7 separate regions of the Homo sapiens genome follow, and regions 1, 3, 4, 5, 6 and 7 are each linked to region 2. The links are contacts of gene promoters, found by promoter capture Hi-C in blood cells and fetal thymus (Javierre and others, 2016). All regions are on one chromosome and are shown on one strand. Each heading gives the region's core, a stretch centred on a gene start or on the middle of the fragment in contact. The rest is flanking DNA. Distances are from core to core; before and after follow the strand shown. Region 1 overlaps RANBP2 (RAN binding protein 2). Region 2 holds the start of EDAR (ectodysplasin A receptor). Region 3 overlaps SH3RF3 (SH3 domain containing ring finger 3). Region 4 overlaps SH3RF3 (SH3 domain containing ring finger 3). Region 5 overlaps CCDC138 (coiled-coil domain containing 138). Region 6 overlaps SH3RF3 (SH3 domain containing ring finger 3). Region 7 overlaps SH3RF3 (SH3 domain containing ring finger 3).

Region 1 (2,935 bases), core at 306-2,805, 210 kb before region 2:
CTAAGATAGTGGGGACTTGGTCATCTAAATTGAGGTATGGGATGGAGAAGTTTCTAGTTTTCACCTTCTTGCAGGTATGCGAGAGTGAGACCATCATTGTTCCCCCATACAGAAGTAGGATGCTTAACAATCTAATACCCTTTGGGCAGTTGAAGTCAGTGAGATTCTCCCAAGGCTGCTTTCCACCAGCCCAACCAAGAAATCTACATTCCAGCATTAGCTTCTTCAGGAAGAAGTAGAGATGCAGAAATTATAAACATGTTTAGGCCATTGTGGCTAATTTGGAAGTAGCAGGTTTGGCCTGCTGAGCTAAGTTTACAAAATTTCAAGGTGGGTACTTGAAATTTTAGAAGTAGGTAAAAAGAACCTACTTCTTTACTTGGAAGTCCTTGTGTAGTTTAGTATTAGGAAGTTTATCCAAGGCAGTGACAGTCTTATCTTTGTATCGCTAAGCATAACAATAATAAATGTACTCTGTACTCAACAGTATGAGTTGAATTTACTAGCTTTTTTTTTTTTCCTTTTTTTCCTTTTTTTTTTTGGTGACAGAGTCTTGCTCTGTCACCCAGGCTGGAGTACAATGGCACGATCTCTGCTCATTGCAACCTCCGCCTCCCAAGTTCAAGCGATTCTCCTGCCTTAGCTTCCTGAGTAGCTGGGATTACAGGCACCCGCCACCACGCCCGGCTAATTTTTTTTTTTTTTTTTTTTTTAAAGACAGAGTCTTGCTCTGTCGTCCAGGCTGGAGTGCAGTGGGGCGGTATCTGATCACTGCAACCTCTGCCTCTCAAGTTAAAGTGATTCTCCTGCCCCAGCCTCCTGAGTAGCTGGGATCAGTCACCCATGACCACACACTGCTAACTTTTTTTTTTTTTTTTAAAGACAGAATCTTGCTCTGTTGCCCAGGCTGGAGTGCAGTGGGGCAATCTCAGCTCACTGCAACTTCTGCCCCCCAGGTTGAAGCGATTCTTCTGCCTCAGCCTCTCAAGTAGCTGGGACCACAGGCGCATACCACCACTCCCGGCTTTTCTTTTCTTTCTTTCTTTCTTTTTTTTTTTGAGACGGAGTTTCACTCTTGTTGCCCAGGCTGGAGTGCAATGGTGCCATCTTGGCTCACCGCAACCTCCGCCTCCTGGGTTCAAGCGATTCTCCTGCCCCAGCCTCCCGAGTAGCTGGGATTACAGGCATATGCCACCATGCCTGGTTAATTTTGTATTTTTAGTAGAGACGGGGTTTCTCCATGTTGGTCAGGCTGGTCTTGAACTCCTGACCTCAGGAGATGCGCTCACCTCGGCCTCACAAAGTGCTGGGATTACAGGCGTGAGCCACTGCGCCCAGCCTAATTTTTGTATTATTAGTAGAGATGGGGTTTCACCATGTTGGCCAGGCTGGTCTCGAACCCCTGACCTCAGGTGACCTCGGCCTCCCAAAGTGCTGGGATTACAGGCGTGAGGAATTTACTAGAATAATATAATTTTAAACATTTAAAATTGATGTACATATTACATCATCAGGAATTAGAGGGATTGATAAAATAAGAGGGGGATGAAAAATGTAAAAAATAGATACTAGTGTTTAAATATCCTGATTTATTCATCAGATAAAAATTTCCAATGGGCAAATACTGGAGCAGCTGTGTTTGGAACACAGTCAGTCGGAACCCAGTCAGCCGGTAAAGTTGGTGAAGATGAAGATGGTAGTGATGAAGAAGTAGTTCATAATGAAGATATCCATTTTGAACCAATAGTGTCACTACCAGAGGTAAATGTTAAGGAATTAACCTTTTACTAATAACTTATTTTTCATTTTTAAGTTTTACCCTGGCTTGATCTGTCAGGGTATAATTGTTTGCATTTAAGAATGTTTACTGTTTGAAATGGAAGCTCTATTTATTAGATGTCTAGCCTTTAAGTATAAATTATCTTTTTACAGTTTTTACATAAATATTGGTTTGTAAATTCTATATGTAATTATTGGTAAGAAATAATTTTTTCTTATGTTTCTAGAATATCATGTTTGTTTTTATAACATGATTCTGGGGAAAAATTAACCTCATACTCACTAAAGTCCTTTCAATAAATGTTAACCTTGTATGTTTTTTGGACAAGAACATTGTTCTAGGAAAATTACTTTGTCATTTTTTAACCTCAGTCAGTAGCTAATATTTCTCTTCAGTAGCAAACACTTTTGAAACCTCTCTGTCCTATAAAGAAAAGCATTTAATTTCCAAAGGGAAAATGAATATTATATAAAAGAAAATGTTTAATGATAAATCAGGTCTTTACTCCCTCAGCCAAATCAGATATATTCCTAGCCCTAAGATATATAACCAGTTATCACATTAACAAATTCTCTTTGTCATCACAAAGAAAATGCCTTAAAAGAATTTGGATCTTTGAAATTTGTCATGGAATTTATTATAAGCAGCAGCTTATAGAGAATTTCATCTCCTATTATAGGTAGAAGTAAAATCTGGAGAAGAAGATGAAGAAATTTTGTTTAAAGAGAGAGCCAAACTTTATAGATGGGATCGGGATGTCAGTCAGTGGAAGGAGCGCGGTGTTGGAGATATAAAGATTCTTTGGCATACAATGAAGAATTATTACCGGATCCTAATGAGAAGAGACCAGGTTTTTAAAGTGTGTGCAAACCACGTTATTACTAAAACAATGGAATTAAAGCCCTTAAATGTTTCAAATAATGCTTTAGTTTGGACTGCCTCAGATTATGCTGGTGAGTTTTTACATTCAAATGCTACTTTTCATTTTTTGGACTTTTCTAAAATCTATAACAAACAAAACAACTTATAACAGTTATTTTAATACTAAGGTCACTGCTTCCCCTTTCCCTCCCTGCCAGATGGAGAAGCAAAAGTAGAACAGCTTGCAGTGAGATTTAAAACTAAAGAAGTAGCTGATTGTTTCAAGAAAACATT
Region 2 (3,112 bases), core at 426-2,925:
CCAGGTAGTGGCCAGGGAGTGAAAATCAAGCATTTCAGGGAAAGTGTATTTACTTTTTCCTCCCAAAGACTGGTCCTTCCAAGATTATCCTCCAACTGTGCTGTCACAAATTAATCCTCCCACAGCACAGCCTGGCCCACTTAGGGATGGGGAGGGGTACAGTGGAGACCCCCGGCCAATCGCCACCAGGATCGCCAAACTTTCCCAGCCGTGAAGGGTACACGTGGACTGTCATCGGAACGAACGCTTATTTCCAAGCCTTGACCAGAGTCACTCTCTTTTTGGTGGCCTCTGTCAAAATGTATCTTTAAAGGTTTTAAGTGGCTATGACTTACAAATCTCAGAGTATTAAGCCAGGCAAGAAACATTCTCTATTTTAGATGCCTGGATCCCTTTTTTCCTTCAGTCTATTATGGCTCTTCACTTCTTTGTTACACTTTCACTCTTGCTTAGAAAGTGTCTCAAAAATGCCACTTGAGAGCCACAGAGCAGTGGCCTGGGGACTGGGGAAGAGGACGGTGGTGCTCCTGTCTCTCCGTACGTCTCCTCACATGCGTGTACCCCTGGCTGTGTGGGATTGCCCACTGACCGGCATCTGCCCTGCTTGTTGATTTTAACTGTCCCTCTTGTTGCTGACCCAGCACAACATGGGCAGGGAAACCCAGTGGGAACCTCGCCTGCTGACCTCCCTGCCCAGCCACCCGCTTCTCCCTGAGCTGACATCTCAAAGCTTGGCTGCTGCAGGAGGCTGGGAATCAGAGCCGACTGAATCAGAGCCGACTCCTGTCTAGGAGCCCAACCCACCCCACGGTCTGTCAGAGTGTTGAGAGGAACCTCTTGGCTGGAAATGAAAACCTCAATCATCACAAATAGGTACCCACTCCCCTCCTTCTCTCCCTCTCCCCGCTCCCCCGCCACCAACACAGAGGCCAGGATATGGGGGGTCTCAGACACGACTGGAAACCCCACTTGGAAGGTCTCTTAGGTCACAGCGGGTACGCAGAGTTGGAGGCAGGTACAGAGCCCAGCTAGAGTCCCTGCCGCGCCTGCCTTCCCCAGTGAGCCGGGCACAGGGGCAAACCTGAGAAACATACTTTTCACGCTCCCTGGAGGAACCCGTTGCTTCAGTAGCCCAAATCTTAAAGCCTGTGAAGCACACACAGAATTTGTCTCCCTAACCAAATGTGCAACCAACAGCAAAACAGGGTTTCTGATGTTTTTCTAAAACAAAGGAACAATCTCAGGTCTTAGAACTGGTAGCGCAGACATACTGCAATCGGTAAAGCTTGTTCAAACGCAACCCAAAAATGACATGCATTTCAAAAATGCACCCAGCCTCTCTCCCAGCCCATGACACCTCCGTCTCGGCCACAGCTGAAGAGTTTAGAAAACCAGAGGAAAGGACCAGGGCTTACCTGGCTTCTGTTGGAGGTCAGCTTCAGTCCCAGCAGAAGATGGGTCTATGAAGAAAGTCAGGTACCATCCAGTTCTGGGTGACAGGCTTCACAGGTGGCCACCGTGGCAGCCCTCTCAGAAGCAGGTACTCTATGTCCTTAGGGGCCAGCAGGGCTGCCTGGGACCTGGCACACCTCTCTGACACTAGCCCCGCTTCCTTTCCGTTTAAAGGGCTTCCCGGGAACTCTTCCTTGACCGCTCCCTGCCCTGTCTGCAAGTTTGGAAACTCAGTCCTTGCCGAGGGGCTTTCCCTCATTGCAAACTCACCTGCACCATCTAGAGGTCTCTCCCAGCACTGGAGAGGCTGGAGCGGGCACGTTCAGCCCTGCTGCCATAGGTCCCTGGCACACCTGGCTCTCCGGCCGTCTGCCCCTTAAGAGATCTGTTGGAATGCGTAAAAATCATGGATTTTTTTTTTTGCAGGGGTGGGGGCCTTGCTTCTATCAGAGCCTTTAGGCGTGGGAGTGCTAAAAAGCTAAACTAGCATTAAAATATCATTAATCAAAGCTTGTTCGTAGAAGGACCCCCCACTGAGATGGCTACAGGCATGGGTGCCACTGCACGGATTCAGCTTCCAACATGTCTGTTCACATTCTCACCCATCCCCCGCACATCCCTCAGGGTTTGAGCCACCAGGACTGCTCTTCCTTTCCTCTCTCTGGACACCTCACACCACCAGTGTATACCCATGTAACTTCAGATAACCATACACACCCCCCGTATAACTAGGTAATTAGGAAGCCATTTGAAACATCAACATTTTGAAAGGACATACCTTTCAGTATTGGGCAATTATTTCTCAAAAAGTAAATGATTGGGGGGGGGAAAACAGCCTTAAAATAATGTCATTCTCTTGTCATTTTCTCCCTCATTCACACCTACACAGATAAATACAGGAACAGAGCAGCTCCTCCAGGCTAGATTTCTGTGTTCTCCTTTTCCATCTTGTCCCCTCTGCCTTGGAAACCTACAAGGTAACTCACACATGAGAAAGTAAGAGCTTAAGAAAGAAACAGTCTGGGCTCCGTGGCTCACACCTGTAACCCCAGCACTTTGGAGGCTGAGGCGGGCAGATCACTTGAGGTCAGGAGTTTGGGATCAGCCTGGCCAACATGGTGAAACTCCGTCCCTACTAAAAATACAAAAATTAGGCCGGGCGCGGTGGCTCACGCCTGTAATCCCAGCACTTTGGGAGGCCGAGGCGGGTGGATCATGAGGTCAGGAGATCGAGACCATCCTGGCTAACAAGGTGAAACCCCGTCTCTACTAAAAATACAAAAAATTAGCCGGGCGTGGTGGCGGGCGCCTGTAGTCCCAGCTACTCGGGAGGCTGAGGCAGGAGAATGGCGTGAACCCGGGAAGCGGAGCTTGCAGTGAGCCGAGATTGCGCCACTGCAGTCCGCAGTCCGGCCTGGGTGACAGAGCGAGACTCCGTCTCAAAAAAAAAAAAAAAAAAAAATATACAAAAATTAGCCGGTGGTGGCATGTGTGGAGGCTAAAGCAGGAGAATTGTTCGAACCCAGGAGATGGAAGTTGCAGTGAGCCGAGATTGTGCCACTGCACTCCAGCCTGGGCAACAGAGCGAGAATCTGTCTCAAAACAGAAAAGAAAAGAAAAGAAAAAAGCAGACAGAAATGTATGGGGCTGGGGCAAGGAC
Region 3 (2,834 bases), core at 21-2,520, 250 kb after region 2:
ACAATGTTAAATGTAATAAAAATAAGCAAGTTCCCTGGGTTTATGCAGTGCCAAATGTCAAGATGGTTGTATACAGGAGAAGACGTCCAAGACACGTCTTTTCCGAGTGTCCCAGAGCTCAGAACTCTGTGAGCACTTTGAGCTTCCCCAGACCTCTTTCTTCCCTGGGTGTGAGCCCTGCACAGTGCTCCGAAAAGAGCTGGGGTCCGTAAATACGGATGGCAAACAGCTCACCTGGGTTTCTCACATGGATTTGTTTTCTTGGGGGTCTCTGTATGGAAGCTTTTATCCCTTCCTAGGGGGCTATAGGAGTATTTTTGTTAAGATTCAATGGGTCATTTCCAAAGTAGTCATTTCTTTCTCCTCACACAAAAATGAACTGAATAAGAATAAGGATACAGTTTTCTAGTGAAAATTGGGGTCTTCCCTGCTCCTTGCCTCCAATCAAGTAAAAGCTTTTTAGAACAAACGGACTACAATATTCTGAAGTGATTTTGAATTTGGCCCCATATTTGACTCTGCGGTCCGATGAGGGACACGGGGTTAGTGGGCAGACACCATTGTTTGCACACACGAGACTGGGTACAGAGCCAGGCGTGATCATCCAGGATAACAGGGAGGAAAGAGAGGCCGATGAAGCCACTGATTTTTAAGAGCTTTCTTGGTGGAGTAATAGATTTTAGGGAGGGAGTTGCTCTGCCAAGTGCTCCAGCTTAAATGGAGCCACCTGTGGAAAGGAGCTGGCGGCACTGCTGTGGGAGTCCCTTGTCTTTGGGAGGGGTGTTTCACGGCCACCTGCCTTTCATCCCCACAGCTCACAGCAACTTACAGAATTTCCGACCGTCTCCTTGGAGACTTAGAGAAATGTGTGCTGAAGGTGAGGAGTCACTCAATCACTGGCAGCCAGGCGGAGGTGACTGATAGCAAAATGTGCTCTAGTTGTAGTGGGGCTTGCAGCTGGGTATCCTCTGTGGAATGCTTGCTGGCTCATGATAGATGAGTCACTTGTCTGTAGTGGTGGCCGGGGCTCTGGCCCAGACCCTTCTCTGTTTTCTTATGTGAGTGAAGGCTGTTGTATTGCATAGTGGGTGAACCACACCTGGGGATTCTAGACTTGGCACTGCCCTCTCTTCTTGTGGAACCATGGATCACCCATTTATCACCTCTGGGCCTCAGTTTTCTCACATGCAAAATCAGGGTTGAAGCCAGGCATGGTGGCTCACGCCTATAATTTCAGCACTTTGGGAGGCCCAGGAGGGCAGATCACTTGAGGTCGGGAGTCCAACATGGTTGAAACCTCATCTTTACTAAAAATACAAAAAAATTAGTCAGGTGTGGTGGCTCATGCCTGTAATCCCAGCTACTTGGGAGGCTGAGGCAGGAAAATTGCTTAAACCTGGGAGGCGGAGCTTGCAGTGAGCCAAGATCGCACCTCTGCACTCCAGCCTGGGCGACAAACAAAAAAACAAACAAACAAAATACAAACAACAAAAACTAAAACCAGAGTCAGGGTTGGGCTTGATGGTCCCTATCAGTAGCAGAGTCCCCTGGTGTGGCACTTTGACTTGTGGATAAATAGGTTTTTCATTGCTGCAGTTTCAAACCTTCAGCTTCTCTAATATCCCCTGCCACTGACGGATTATTTCACACGAACCAGAGAGGCCATTAGGTGAGAATGCCTTCATCTTCCCTCCCTCCCACCTCTGAGCACCCTTCTGTTTCCTTCTGAGCTTCTTCCTATTTCCTCCTGTCGTCCTTCTCCTCTCTAGACCCTGAGGGGTTTCTCTTCTCTTCTAAGGTTACTTCTTCCTACTGGACTCCTGACACCCCCACCCCCACCCCTGCCCTTGGGAACTTGATTCCATCTCTCTCTCTCTGTCTCTCTGTCTTGCTCCCCGCTTCTTTTCTCATGTTCCATCTTCTTTCTCCCTCACCTCCTTATAATCCACATCCAAACAAGTCCACATCTCCCCAAAAACTCCATGCCTCCCTTTTGGCCAAAAAGAACTCTATAGAGCATCAGAAGAATAATTACTAAAAATATATGTTTAAAATAAGTGGCCTTAGTAGTAAGCTCTGAGAATGAGAAGCTTCATTGTCTAGTAAGTTAATACAAATTAGTCGACAGTCAATGATGACAAGAAGAGAGCGAAATAAGTTTGTACTTACATACCTCAAAACAAAAACTCTCTGAAAAAGCAGTTTGTTTGTCTCTTGACCTAACAATTCCAGCCTAAGAATATAACAACAACAACAGAAAAGACAAATTCATTTGTAGTAATGGCCATTATAAAAGATGGACGGATATTGGAGCATTTGAAGTGGAAAAAAAGTATACAAAATTCATCTTGCTGTGGGACCCTCTCCCCTTTTCTAGGGCCATATGGGTATAGATGCATTGGGGGAAAAAATGGCTGGAAGAAATACTTTAGGAATGTCCTTTTTTTTTCTTTATATCTTTTGAAATTTCCTACATAAGCTCGTATTACATTTTGTTGGCAGAAAATCAGATTTATAACCATCCGTCCTCCCTCCCACACAACCTTCTTCCCTCCCACTTGGCCTCAGGCATTGAGGTTTGGCTTGGTTCGGTCAGCTCTGCTGGGAGGGCCCCTGGGACTCTCTGTCTCCCCGCCTCGCCATGGTGAGGGTTCGGCAGTTCTCTCCCCCAGTCCCTGCAGTCCCTCTTCTCTGGCTTCTGTATCTGCCAGTTTTCTGTTCCCACCCTGCGTGTTTCCCTAGTGTCTTGAATAATTTTTTTTTTTTTTTGAGATGGAGTCTTGCTCTGTCCCCCAGGCTAGAGTGCAGTGGTGCGATCTCGGCTCACTGCAAGC
Region 4 (2,948 bases), core at 430-2,929, 180 kb after region 2:
TTGTTTGGCTATATCTCTCTCTCTATATATATCTATATATATAACCAAAATACATATGTATAAAACAACCATACACACACACACACACACATGACCCCCCAAAATCAAATAGGCTGATAGATTACTCAGAAAAAGATAAGTCACATAGGAAGTGGGCTATATAAAACCAGAACTTCCATGAACACAGATGCTCCCTCCCACTGGCACCTGGCATGCATGGCAGGTGCTTTATATTGAAGTGCAGAAGTATATGAGTTTTAAATCTTTAAGAGACTTTAATGTTTTACTTGATAACAAAAGAAACATCACATCCTATTTTCCTGAATAGTCCTTTATCTTCATATGGCTCATAACTGTTATAGTTTTGATAATCATGGCATTTTGGCCAAAACACTTTGCCAGAAACTATAATCTCTACAAGTTTCCTTAGGCTATGAAGGTGTTTTAGAGGATTATAATTTTACATACCCCTAATACCATCGTCGGCTCTTGTTTCCTTATCTGCAGATGAACGAGATGTTTTCTTTCTCTCTCTTTTTTCTCTTCTCTTCTCTTCTTTTCTTTTCTCTTCTCTTCTCTTCTCTTCTCTTCTCTTCTCTTCTCTTCTCTTCTCTTCTCTTCTCTTCTCTTCTCTCCTCTCTCTCTCTCCTCTCTCTCTCTCTTTCCTTTCTTTCTTTCTTTTTTGACCACATCTTGTTCTGTTGCCCAGGCTGGAGTGCAGTGGCACAATCTCGGCTCACTGCAACCTCCGCCTCCCGGGTTCAAGTGATTCTCCTGCCTCAGCCTCCTGAGTAGCTGGGACTGCAGGCGCACACCACCATGCCTGGCTAATTTTTGTATTTTTAGTAGAGATGGGGTTTCACTATGTTGGCCAGGATGGTCTCGATCTCCTGACCTCAACCTCGTGATCCACCCGCCTCGGCCACCCAAAGCGCTGGGATTACAGGTGCGAGCCACTGTGCCTGGTCAAACAGAATATTTCCTAAGGGTTCATCCTGCTCCACAGTCTGAGGTTGTTATTTGTTAATTAAATAAATATTTGTTGGGCATTGACCATGTGCCAGGCACTGGGGCTCAAGGGGTGCGGATGACCCATCTGTTTCTCTCAGGAAGCTGACATCCAGGTGCACAGGGCATAGTTTACCTGTGAACAGAGAGGGCGCTTTTCTCCCCTCAGTAAGCTACCTTGCGTCACCTTCCTCTGTTCAAAGAGGACTGATAAATCACCTCACTAAGCAGCTGTTGCCTGCAGGTAGCCCACACCGGGCTGGGTGCTGAGGCACAGAGGCACACAGGGCGCTCCCCACAGGAACCAAGCCCGGGAGGCACACCTGCATGCCAGGTGCTGGGGGCTGGGGGAGTCTGTGTCCTGGTTTGGTTCATGGGCATCCTGGTTTTATGTAGCTCACTTGCTGTGTGACTTATCTCTTCCTCAGTAATCTGCAGCACCTAGATCATTCAGGTTTTGTTTTGTTTTATATATATGTACATTTTTTGGTTTATTTATGTATATAAAGTACATACATCACCAAATATAACCATATTATGGCTGTATTTGCTTACATGTATTTGGTTGTTTTGGTTATATATGTAGAGTTGAATGTCCTTTTATTTCCTTGTCATATCTATTTCTTATCTATAGCCTGTTAAGAATTCAAAGTTTTTGTCATCTCTATACAAAATGATGGCTATTTGTTGTTAGTGACTATGAATATTCGGAGAAAATTATCTGCATATTGACTTGAAATACTCTTCCTAACAAAAATGCTTCCCCTCCTGCTCCACGCTTGCCCCCCTACCCCGACCCCTCACTGCTGCTGGGCTCGCGGGTATGGTCAGCGCTGTGGCTTCGCCCGCGGCGGGCCAGGGAAGTGCATTAGAACACGGAGCACAGGGAGCTATTTCCTTCTCGCCGCCCCTGGTCTGTGCAGAGCTGCCTCTGAGACATTTCCTGTGCGGGAATGAATCCAGGGCTCCAGGGCTGTTTAGTCTGGGCCTTTGGGAGTTCGGTGCAGCTAATGCCTTCCAGAGGCCCAGCCCCTGCGCCTGGCGCTGCCCTCCTGGTGCCCACGCTGGCTGGCTCCCTGCCGTGCATCCCGGCCACGCTCACTTGCAGCGGGGAGTGGCTGCCTGCCCCAAGCTGGCCTGTCATCCAGGAATGAAGATGTTCTATTTGTGTTTTATATGGATTCACTTTGAAACTCCCATTCTGTGTTCCCATAAAGGGCATGCATGTGCCGAGCCCAGCCTTGACTCCCTCCTTTCGCTGTGGTGAGCTTGTTTATTTTCAGCGTGATTCTCAGCTGAGTCGCCCGTTTCCCAATAAAAGGCAGGGCCCAGCACTGTGGGCTCCATGAGGGCCTGTTTGGTTGCTTGGTTTGGAGCACGAGGGAAAACTTGATATGCACGTCATTTCCCAGTTCCAGGCAATGACCTGGGGCAGAGCGGGTGGGGAGCAGGTCTCCCGGAGCCATCTGGAATATGCCGATGAGTGAGCTGTGCATTAGCTCTCAGACCAGGGTCCTCTGGCAGCCAGGCCTCTGAGCACAGCGTCTGAAGTATCAGCCGCCACAGGGATCTGTGGGCAACAGCTGCGTGTGGCCTGTGCTGTTTCTCTCCTGACAAGGACCTTGCAAACAGCGTGGAAATGCGCGAGCCAGCGGTCAAACCCCTCTTCACCATGCACGGAGCTCAGCCGTCCTCTCCCTGCTCCTGGAGGTCTTCCTTTTTCTGTGACTGTAACCTAAAAACATTAAAATACGTTTATTGAGATAGCAAACTTTTATCCTCTTGGTGTTTGCAGTGAAAATAGTCCTTAATGGTGTAATTTTCCTTTCTTACCTCCCTCCGCTTGTCCCGTCCTAGCTCTTGTTATTCCAAACAGTGTGGATTATTGGGCTGCACCTGGCCACCCAGGCTGGTGTTTTGAATCAGCAGCATCACCTCTC
Region 5 (2,968 bases), core at 183-2,682, 150 kb before region 2:
TTTTAGGTCCTGGGAGTTACATGGCAAACCTGGAGTCCACATACTTGGAAGTCAGGAAGCACAGGCAGGGAGAGAGAGCGAGAGAGAGAGAAAGGGACCTGTGGGCAAGTGCCCTTATTGGAGTCCAGGATGTTACCCATACAGGTTTTTCACAGGCTGTTTTGTTTGTTGAGTTTAAAGCAAGCAGACATGAGTTCTAGGAGGTAGTCACTGTGGCATGTTCACACAGTCCGTAGTGAGGTGTGAGGGTCTGTGAGACAAGTTGTGCGGGCTTCATCTAGCTATTCCATAGGGAAGTGGTCATTAGGGAGGAGTTGTCTAAGGCAGATATCTGAATCAAACATATTTAGGAACTGGGGGAGGGGATGGGGATTTAAAACTGGAAACAGTGTTAAAAGTGACTGATCCCTGCTTCTAGGGTGAAAAAGTCCAACTTACATTTAAAATGAATGCCAGGGCAACATCAAATTATAAGCATTCACTACAACATTATGTAGAACTTATTCAGTCTATTGGTATGGTCATTTTACCGGTTTGAATAAAGCACAGAAGCTTTACTTCCCTTTTTATCCCTTAACCTTTTCTGTATACGCTTAGAACCACATTAGAGAATGTTACCATTTTTGCTTCAACCGTCAAACAGAATTTATAGAACTCAAGAAGAGAAGGAAAGTTTATTGTATTTACCCATATTTTTGTTTACTATGTTCTTCTCTCCTTCCAGATGTGCCACAGTTCCCTCTTTCATTATATCCTATCTATCTGTTTAGAGGACTTCTTTATCTGTTCTTTAGAGTAGTTATTTTTCTTTTTCTTTTGAGGCAGGGTCTCACTCTGCTGCCCAGGCTAGAGTGCAGTGGCATGATCTTGGCTCACTGCAACCTCCGTCTGCTGGGTTCAAACCATGCTCCTGCCTCACCCTCCCAAGTAGCTGGGATTACAGGCGCCCACCACCATGCCTGTCTACTTTTTGTATTTTTAGTAGAGATGGGGTTTCGCCATGTTGGCCAGGCTGGTCTCGAACTCCTGACCTCAAGTGATCCACCTGCCGTGGCCTCCCAAAGTGCTGGGATTACAGGCATAAGCCACCGCACCTGGCCTAGAGTAGGTTTGCTGATGACACAAACTCTTAGTTTTTCTTAACATATTTTGATTTCCTTTCAATTACTGAAGGATATTTTCACTGGGTATCAGATTCTAGTGTGACAGTTCTTTACTTTCAGTACTTGAAAAATGTGCCAATTCTTTCTGCCCTCCATGGTTTCTGATAAGAAATCTGTCATTTGAGTTATTTTCCCCATATATGTAAGGTGTCATTTCTCTCACACACATTTGTCTTTAGTTTTTATAAGTTTGACTATGATGGGTCTTGGTGTTGATCTCTTTATTTTAGCCTGTTTGGTGTTTGTTTAGTTTCTTCAGTCTCTGGGCACGTTTTTTGCCAAGTCCAGGAAGTTTTCAGTCATTATTTCTTCAAGTTCATGTTTTGTGTGTGTGTGTGTGTGTGTGTGTGTGTGTGTGTTTCTTTCTTTTTTTTTTTTTTTTTTTTTTGAGACAGGGTCTTGCTCTGTTGCCCAGGCTGGAGTTCAGTGGCACAATCACGGCTCACTGCAGCCTCACCCTCCTGGGCTCAAGCTGGGACCACGGTCATGTACTACCTTACCTGGTTAATTTTTTTTTGTTTTGTAGAGATAGGGTCTCCCTATGTTGCCCAGGCTGGTCTTGAACTCCCAGGCTCAAGCGATCTTCCATCTTGGCCTCCCAAAGTGCCGGGAGTGCAACCGTGAGCCACCGCCCCCAGTTTCTTCAAGTGCTTTTTCAGCCCTACCTGATTTTTCCTTTCCTGGACTCTAATGACGTGATTTTAGATGTTTTGCTATTCCTTGAAGTTCTGGTGGTTGTTGTTATTTTTCCAGGTTGTTTGCAGTTGTTCAGGTTGGGTGTTTTCTGTTGTTTTATTTTCCAGTTATTCTTTCCTCCATCCTCTCCATTCTGTTATTGAGACTGTTATTGTATTTCCAGTTCTGAAATATTCACTTGGTTCTTTTTCTATGTCTTCTTTGGTAAGACTTTCTGTGTCTTCGATGAGATTTTCTAAAAGCGTATGCAGGTGTTCCTTTTGTCATGGCTACTTTAGAATCTTTGTCAGACAATTCTAACATTCTGTCCTGTCGGTGTTGGCAGCTGTTGATTGTCTTTTCTTCATTCAGTTTGAAATCTTTCTGGTCCTTGGAATGGTGGGTGATTTTAAATTGAAAACTAGACATTTTGGGTCTAGATTTGTTTCAGCAAAAGTTTTAACATCCTTAGGTGAAGCTTCAGCAACAACCCAGAGTGCTATTTTTGGAGTTTTTTCTCTTTTCCTTCAATTAAAGGCAAATACTATCCACATTTTTTTTTTTTTTTTTGAGACAGAGTCTTGCTCTGTCATCCAGGCTGGAGAGCAGTGGCACGATCTCGGCTCACTGCAACCTCCGACTCCCAGGTTCAAGCGATTCTCCTGCCTCACCCTCCTGAATAGCTGAGATTACAGGTGCACGCCACCAAGCCCAGTTAATTTTTGTATTTTTAGTAGAGACGGGGTTTCACCATGTTGGCCAGAATGGTCTTGATATCCTGACCTTGTGATCCGCCTGCCTTGGCTTCCCAAAGTGCTGGGATTACAGGCGTGAGCCACTGTGCCTGGCCCACATTTTTTTTTCAAGTTTATTTTTTCATTATAAAAGTGTAGTAGTAAAGCATTAGAGATAATTTTAAAAACAAAAAAAGTTTACCTTAATCCTGTCATTTAACACACTTATTGTAAGTAGAGTTTTGAACATTTTTTTCTATTTTTTACACAAAGGTTTAAAAACATGTATTTTTTTTCTAATAATATAAAAATTGTACTGACAATATATTTAAATTAGATTGCACTGCTTGTGTGTCTGACCACTCAACCATTTGGCCTTTGTCACCTGTAAAACCT
Region 6 (2,983 bases), core at 482-2,981, 160 kb after region 2:
GTTTGTGGCCATGGAAACAGACTGAATACAGAATTTTTTCCTTCCTGGAAATCTGTGCCTACACGTCTCAGAAACATTCATGAAAAGCTAATGGTTTAACAGGTGTTCAAATAAACCATCCTTTGATGGTTCAAATTCCTAATTTTATACTCCAAAGCAGCACCATCCAATACAAATAGAATTTGAGCCACATATTTAATTTAAAAATTTCTGGTAGCCACGTCACAAATGGTAAAAAGAAATTGGTGAAATTAATTTTAAGAATATATTTAACCCACTGTATCCAAAATATGTCGGCATGTAGTTACTATGAAAACTTATTAATTTGCATCCTTTCATCCATGCTGAGCCTGAAGCCCATGTGTATTTCACCCCTGCAGTACATCTGAGGTCACACTTCCCGGTTTCCAGGGCCCAGTAGGCATGTGGTGCCCACAGGTGGCTGCTGTATGGAAAGGCTCAGCTCTGACGGATCAGACCACTTCAGATATCATAATAAAGTTCTGGCACCAGTGCACTTTTTATGACTCTAATAGATTTGCATCTGCAAATTGTGGTTTATAGGCAACAATATGACATTTCCTATGATTTCCGAATTGTCATCATGATAGAATCTGCAGAGGACTGCAGGAATTTTTGGTTTGAAGTTAATATAATAACAGCCTGGAGGGCTTATAAAATGCATGCTGAGAAATTGGTCTGAAACCCAGATTGAGGATATTTTTCATACCCAGCTGATTATTTAAATTTCCCAATGGGAAGTTATTACTTCTCTGACAAGTCTCATCAGCAGTCTATTTTCAGTGGTCTTGATGGACATGGAGTCTAATTTTGTTTTTCTCCTAGCCTCTTTTTGGAGAGGATGAAATTTGGTGTCTGGAATTACATTTCTTCCTAGGAAAAGTGCTCAGCGTCTTAGAAATAAATTATCACAAAACTGTCACCTGTCAGGTGGTTCATTTTCCGAGGTGACAGGCAGTACCTATAATCACGGGAGGTGGGCATGTTCCCCTTGTTGTTGTGGTGTGTCTTTATAGTTGTGGGGAATGTGGGTGGGTGGCCTGCCCTTTCCCTGGTGCATTTGGCAAATCCCTCTTATATTGCTTTTGTTAGCTGACATGTACAGCAAATCAAATAAATAATTCTGGGCTCCGATCTCAAGTTGAGAACGAGAGCATAATAGCCTTGTTCCGGGTGCCTGATGGGCCTACAGTGGCATTACAGCATTCAGAGCGAAAGCTCATTTACTGGAAACAACGAAGTGTTTGAAAGTTCACTGCATGGAAATTGGATTTTTGCCTTTTTATTATTTACATTGTGTATTATCAGATTTATATTTAAAGCTGTGGGGATTATCATTCTCTTTAAACGGCATTATTTAATAAAGAGTAAGCATTTCATGGTTTCAAGACTGCTGAACCCAGCTCATCATTGGAAATTCAATTAATGGGTTCCAACTTGAGTAGGCATGGGCAGAGGGGCGGGGGGGACCCAGTGTCCCCTCCCAGGCCCGATGGCCTGATGGTGGGGTGCCTATCACCGTCTCTCACATGGGCCCTCTCACAGTGAATATCACCTGTCTTTCAAACTTTAAGAGTAAATCTTAGTACTTGCTCCTTGTTCTCGATGGAGGCACGCAATTGAAAGCTTTAATCTCTGGGATGAAAACTTCTGGGAAAGGCAGTACTTTAGTGTGAAGTCATTGTTGTTATGATGCAGCTGAGTTTGAGCCTGTCTTAGAAGCACGTTTTGATGGGCAGAAATGGACCCAGTCTACAGACAAGGGACCATCTGCAAAGACAAGACAGTCACTGTGAAGCTTTTGTCAGAAAACCCATTCCCAATGGAGGGGGAAGGAATCAGTGGGGCAAATATTTCAATGGAACAGAACCAGCATCTAAACTTATGCACTGCAGCGTTCTGCTAAACCCTGCTATGGGTGAGGCTGAATGAGTACATTCATTTCTAATAAAAGAAATTACATTAATTCTTGAAGGGAATGTAGGTGTTTAAGCTGTCACTGGAAACCCATTTCTGAGAAGAAGCTAAAATTGCATGCCTTTTTTTCTCTCTTCTTCTTAGTGATTTAAAAAAATTTGTATTTTTGCTGAGGTTTGGAAAGGCAATTACGCTGATTTTGCCCAAAATTTGGACAGATTAGTTCTGCTGAGAAAGAAGTAACGAAGGTATGAAAGGACATGAAATAACTGAAACTTGCCAGGAGAAATATTAAGGTCAAAAGCAGAGGAAGCATGGGCTCGGCTCAGTGTGCAATGCCTTATCACCGGGTCACCTGCCCCAGGAGGTGGGCCCGACAGATGCCCTGTGTGTGTGGAAGCTGCCGCTGTGAAAGAGTGTGGCATAGTAAAACATGAGATCACCCCAGTTATTTTATTTCTGACACACTGGGAATGAATCTTGATCTAGTCTCCAGGGTGTGTACTTGTCTGCTGTGCGTTTTGTGCTGAGCTGGGTTCTGGTGCATTTTGGCTAAAGCCACATTAACCACCCCCCGACCCCCGATGCCACCATCTTGCTGGAGCTGAGATTTCCTGCAGACCTGCTTCCTGAGGGCTGACTCCTGGTCTCCCACTGCTCTGGGACATTAGCAGTCGGGACTTGCTACACCAGTTGCAGGGCCGAGGACAAAATGAAGTGCAATTATAAAATTATTAAGAATTTCATTACGTGACCACAGAGCATTAAGCCAAATTTGGGCGGCAGCCAAGTGACCTGGTCAGTGATTCTGGTTGGTGGACATGGAACTGCAGACAAGAACCTTCTGTGTTGATGCATCAAAGTATGAACACTGTCAATATGCTGTGGTTGCCAGACTTTTATCTCGTGTGTTTAAAACTGGTTTCTAGAGCTTTGTCTTGGTTAGGGTTCAAAATGTCATCCCTACATGGGGCTCAGCAGATGGGTCTAATCAGGCCTAGCATCCATGTGGTGCTTTCTGTCATTTCTGGCCTCACTTGGGTGA
Region 7 (2,776 bases), core at 44-2,543, 220 kb after region 2:
ATTGAGCACAGTGAGGCTACATGTTGTTTTCAGAGTTGCCCAGCAGCCTGGAGACTGCTGGAGCTGCATCCCAGGGAGACAGTGGCTGGAGTAACACCAACCAGACAATGAGATGGGACATCTGGGGCTTTCAAGAGCTCAGGGCAAATGGCCTAAGCAGGTGGCTCTGCAGGTGTGGATTGTGTCCAGCTCAGGGAAGTGCCTGGGCCTGGTGGGGCCTGGAGTAAGGGGAGAGGTGGGGTCTGATGAGCTTACTCCAGGTGGGAGGCCCAGGAAGGAGGTTGGGTTTTCCTCCCGGGGTTCTCTCTGGGTGTAGGCAGGGAGGAAAGGGAGAAATGCTGTGAATTAGTCGACTGCTTCTCTGGCAAGCACGACCTATTTCTAAAGCATGAGTCACTACAAAATGTAGCTTTTTAAATTTAAAAATCTATTTACAACCTAGGTGAGAAATCTTTATTTTAATTGTGAAGGAAAACACAACCCCACTTGACACGTGGTGGAATTGCTGCTGTCCTTTCCTGTCAGAGCCTCCCAGTGGGCTGGGTTTGGGGATGGATGGGGTGCACACCCGCTCTGCTCAGTTCCTTCTTCCTCCTGGCACACGGGTTGATGACAGCTCTTCAGTTGAGTCTGTTCTGCTCTGTCTGGTAGGGAGCACACCTTTTTGGTTAATATGCCCATTTATGTGTGTCTATGGGGCCTCTGGAGAAAACGTTACTTGCAGAATTAAGCACAATTAAAGGAGAAGTGAGCCCTGCTGACCTGAAAGCAGGTGGGGGCTGCTCCTTGGCTGGGATAAAAGGCAAGGAGGCAACCCTGATAAATGGCAGCTGGCTAGGTGGTGAGGGGATGTCCTGCCATTTGCAGCAAGGCATTGGTTACAAGCCTGGATTTTGTTTAACATCTTTATTAATAATGCTGGAGGCAACAGTAAACAGCAATTTAATGAAATTCACAGAAGATGCTAAATCAGGAGGTGTTATAAACAGCAGGGAAGCCCTGGCGAGGTAAGAAGCATGGAGCGGAAGGAGTAGGGGCCGTGTCTGAGAAGAATGCAGATGGGCGCAACTGCGGTGGAGGGGGAGCCCAGTCTTCCAGGTATCCAGTAGGAGCGGATCAGCAAGCTCCGGGGCTGTCACAGAGCAGGCAGCTACGTGCTGGAGAGCACAGCAGTGGGGAGCATTAGACAGACAGATGCACATGAGCCCTTCGGCCCTTCCTGCATTTCTTTCTTTTTTTTTTTTTTGAGATGGAGTCTCGCTCTGTCACCCAGGGTGGAGTGCAATGGTGCAATCTTGGCTCACTTCAACCTCCGCCTGCTGGGTTTAAGCAGTTCTCCTGCCTCAGCCTCCCTGAGTAGCTGGGATTACAGGCATTCACCATGCCCAGCTATTTTTTGTATTTTTAGGAGAGACAGGGTTTCCCCATGTTGGCCAGGCTGGTTTCAAACTCTGGACCACAGGTGATCCGCCCTCCTCGGCCTCCCAAAGTGCTGGGATTACAGGTGTGAGACACCGCACCCAGCCCCTTCCCACATTTCTGTTACCTCTTTCTAGAAACCTGAATGTGAATGCCACTGAATTCAATAAATGACTGATTGAGCACCTGCATTGGTGTAACTGGTGGGCTTTGCGGAATTCCAGGGAGATAGCGAAACTTGGAATGTAAGCTGGTGAATGGGTGGTTGGTGCGGCTTGCCGGGCAATGGTCCGAATCGAGCCTCTGGGTGGCTGTGGTTTTGTTTGGCTTCTGGATGACTTGTCAGGGTACCAGCCACTGGTGTCTGATCTGGGATTTTCTTCCTCCTCTTCTTGACTCCTCACTTCCCTCCAACTCCATGAAATGAGGCTGCCCAGAAAAGGCTGAAGGAAGTCAGTTGGCTCGCTATGGAGGAGGGGCAGTTTTCAATTAGAGTCTGACCATGTTGTCGGGAAAGTAGGGGACTGCTTTGGCTGGTTATACGTGACTATAAATCCCAACTTGGACAGTATTTCATTTAGAATCCTGACAAGGAAAAACAATACAAAAGTCTCAAAATGAATTTGTTAGCAACCATCCTGACTGCATTGTGAGGCTTTCCGACAGCTCCAGGGAGGTTGGCTTGAGGTAGCTTTGCCCAGCTGGCTGGAGAAATGAGATCAAGTGGAGTGGCTTGAGGAGAAGTCGGCTGACCCACACATTTGACAGATCTTTTGGGTTCATTGATCTTTGTCAATGTTTCTTCTCCAGATAGCAACCTCCCTTTTCTTGTGTTAAATGGACTCACCTGATTGTAATCACAGAACTAATTGTTGTATAATAAAGACCCATTCTCTCTTTGCCCGTGGCCCAAAGCAGCCTTCTCCCCCACCCGTCAGTTCCCTCTGCCCCTGGTATTTCCCTGCTGGAGGAGTTAGACCTCCTGGTGAGCTGGTGTGGGGTAGGTGCCATACCAGGCTGGGCACTGGAAGAACAAGGGTGGATCAGACACAGTCTTGGCTTTATGGAACTTCTGTTGGGTGGGGGAGAAAGATGATTGGAATATAGTGGATGATGAAAAGACAGATGCTGCCCACACATCCCAGGGAAGCCCTGTGCTGAGCGGTGTGCAGGTGTCGGCAGCAGGGTAGGAGTGCACTCTGAGCAGGTGGAGGATGCAGTCCTGGGAAGGCTCGGAGGAATCTGAAAGCACAGTCAAGCAGTTGCATCACTTTGGGTGCTCTGGGCTGCAAGTCATGAACACCCAGTTTTTAAACTGGGTTTAAACCACATGGGCGCGGTTGCTTATTCTCTTCCT

The links. The method cuts DNA at HindIII sites, captures the fragments that hold promoters and counts their contacts. A CHiCAGO score of 5 or more calls a contact.
Region 1: a contact is called between a fragment that was not itself captured here and the fragment with the promoter of EDAR in region 2, in 1 of 17 cell types (total CD4 T cells). The highest score is 5.9, in total CD4 T cells.
Region 3: a fragment that was not itself captured here is called in contact with the fragment with the promoter of EDAR in region 2 in 2 of 17 cell types (total CD8 T cells and non-activated CD4 T cells); the score reaches 5.5 in total CD8 T cells.
Region 4: a fragment that was not itself captured here is called in contact with the fragment with the promoter of EDAR in region 2 in 1 of 17 cell types (non-activated CD4 T cells); the score reaches 5.3 in non-activated CD4 T cells.
Region 5: a fragment that was not itself captured here is called in contact with the fragment with the promoter of EDAR in region 2 in 3 of 17 cell types (non-activated CD4 T cells, naive CD4 T cells and naive CD8 T cells); the score reaches 6.4 in non-activated CD4 T cells.
Region 6: a contact is called between a fragment that was not itself captured here and the fragment with the promoter of EDAR in region 2, in 1 of 17 cell types (naive CD8 T cells). The highest score is 6.3, in naive CD8 T cells.
Region 7: a fragment that was not itself captured here is called in contact with the fragment with the promoter of EDAR in region 2 in 1 of 17 cell types (non-activated CD4 T cells); the score reaches 6.5 in non-activated CD4 T cells.

What each region holds. Positions count from the first base shown.
Region 1 is chr2:108,779,669-108,782,603 of GRCh38, forward strand. RANBP2 (RAN binding protein 2) reads left to right here. Exons shown (of 29, transcript NM_006267.5): 26 at 1,601-1,761; 27 at 2,460-2,733; 28 at 2,860-2,935. Among named protein-coding and RNA genes, the nearest start is that of CCDC138, 5.6 kb to the right of the region's middle. The HindIII fragment of the contact is 5,453 bases long and covers 1-2,935 here.
Region 2 is chr2:108,987,545-108,990,656 of GRCh38, forward strand. It overlaps EDAR (ectodysplasin A receptor), which reads right to left and starts at 1,676. Exons shown (of 12, transcript NM_022336.4): 1 at 1,416-1,676. It also overlaps a transcript of RANBP2 not described here. RefSeq lists an enhancer at 149-650. The HindIII fragment of the contact is 677 bases long and covers 1,284-1,960 here.
Region 3 is chr2:109,239,015-109,241,848 of GRCh38, forward strand. All of the region lies in intron 1 of SH3RF3 (SH3 domain containing ring finger 3), which reads left to right. It also overlaps a transcript of RANBP2 not described here. Among named protein-coding and RNA genes, the nearest start is that of MIR4266, 73 kb to the right of the region's middle. RefSeq lists an enhancer at 17-106. The HindIII fragment of the contact is 1,635 bases long and covers 454-2,088 here.
Region 4 is chr2:109,169,682-109,172,629 of GRCh38, forward strand. All of the region lies in intron 1 of SH3RF3 (SH3 domain containing ring finger 3), which reads left to right. It also overlaps a transcript of RANBP2 not described here. Among named protein-coding and RNA genes, the nearest start is that of MIR4265, 30 kb to the left of the region's middle. The HindIII fragment of the contact is 6,921 bases long and covers 1-2,948 here.
Region 5 is chr2:108,842,358-108,845,325 of GRCh38, forward strand. The region is part of intron 11 of CCDC138 (coiled-coil domain containing 138); the gene reads left to right. It also overlaps a transcript of RANBP2 not described here. Among named protein-coding and RNA genes, the nearest start is that of CCDC138, 57 kb to the left of the region's middle. The HindIII fragment of the contact is 1,764 bases long and covers 551-2,314 here.
Region 6 is chr2:109,151,270-109,154,252 of GRCh38, forward strand. All of the region lies in intron 1 of SH3RF3 (SH3 domain containing ring finger 3), which reads left to right. It also overlaps a transcript of RANBP2 not described here. Among named protein-coding and RNA genes, the nearest start is that of MIR4265, 11 kb to the left of the region's middle. The HindIII fragment of the contact is 172 bases long and covers 1,646-1,817 here.
Region 7 is chr2:109,210,417-109,213,192 of GRCh38, forward strand. All of the region lies in intron 1 of SH3RF3 (SH3 domain containing ring finger 3), which reads left to right. It also overlaps a transcript of RANBP2 not described here. Among named protein-coding and RNA genes, the nearest start is that of MIR4265, 70 kb to the left of the region's middle. The HindIII fragment of the contact is 9,606 bases long and covers 1-2,776 here.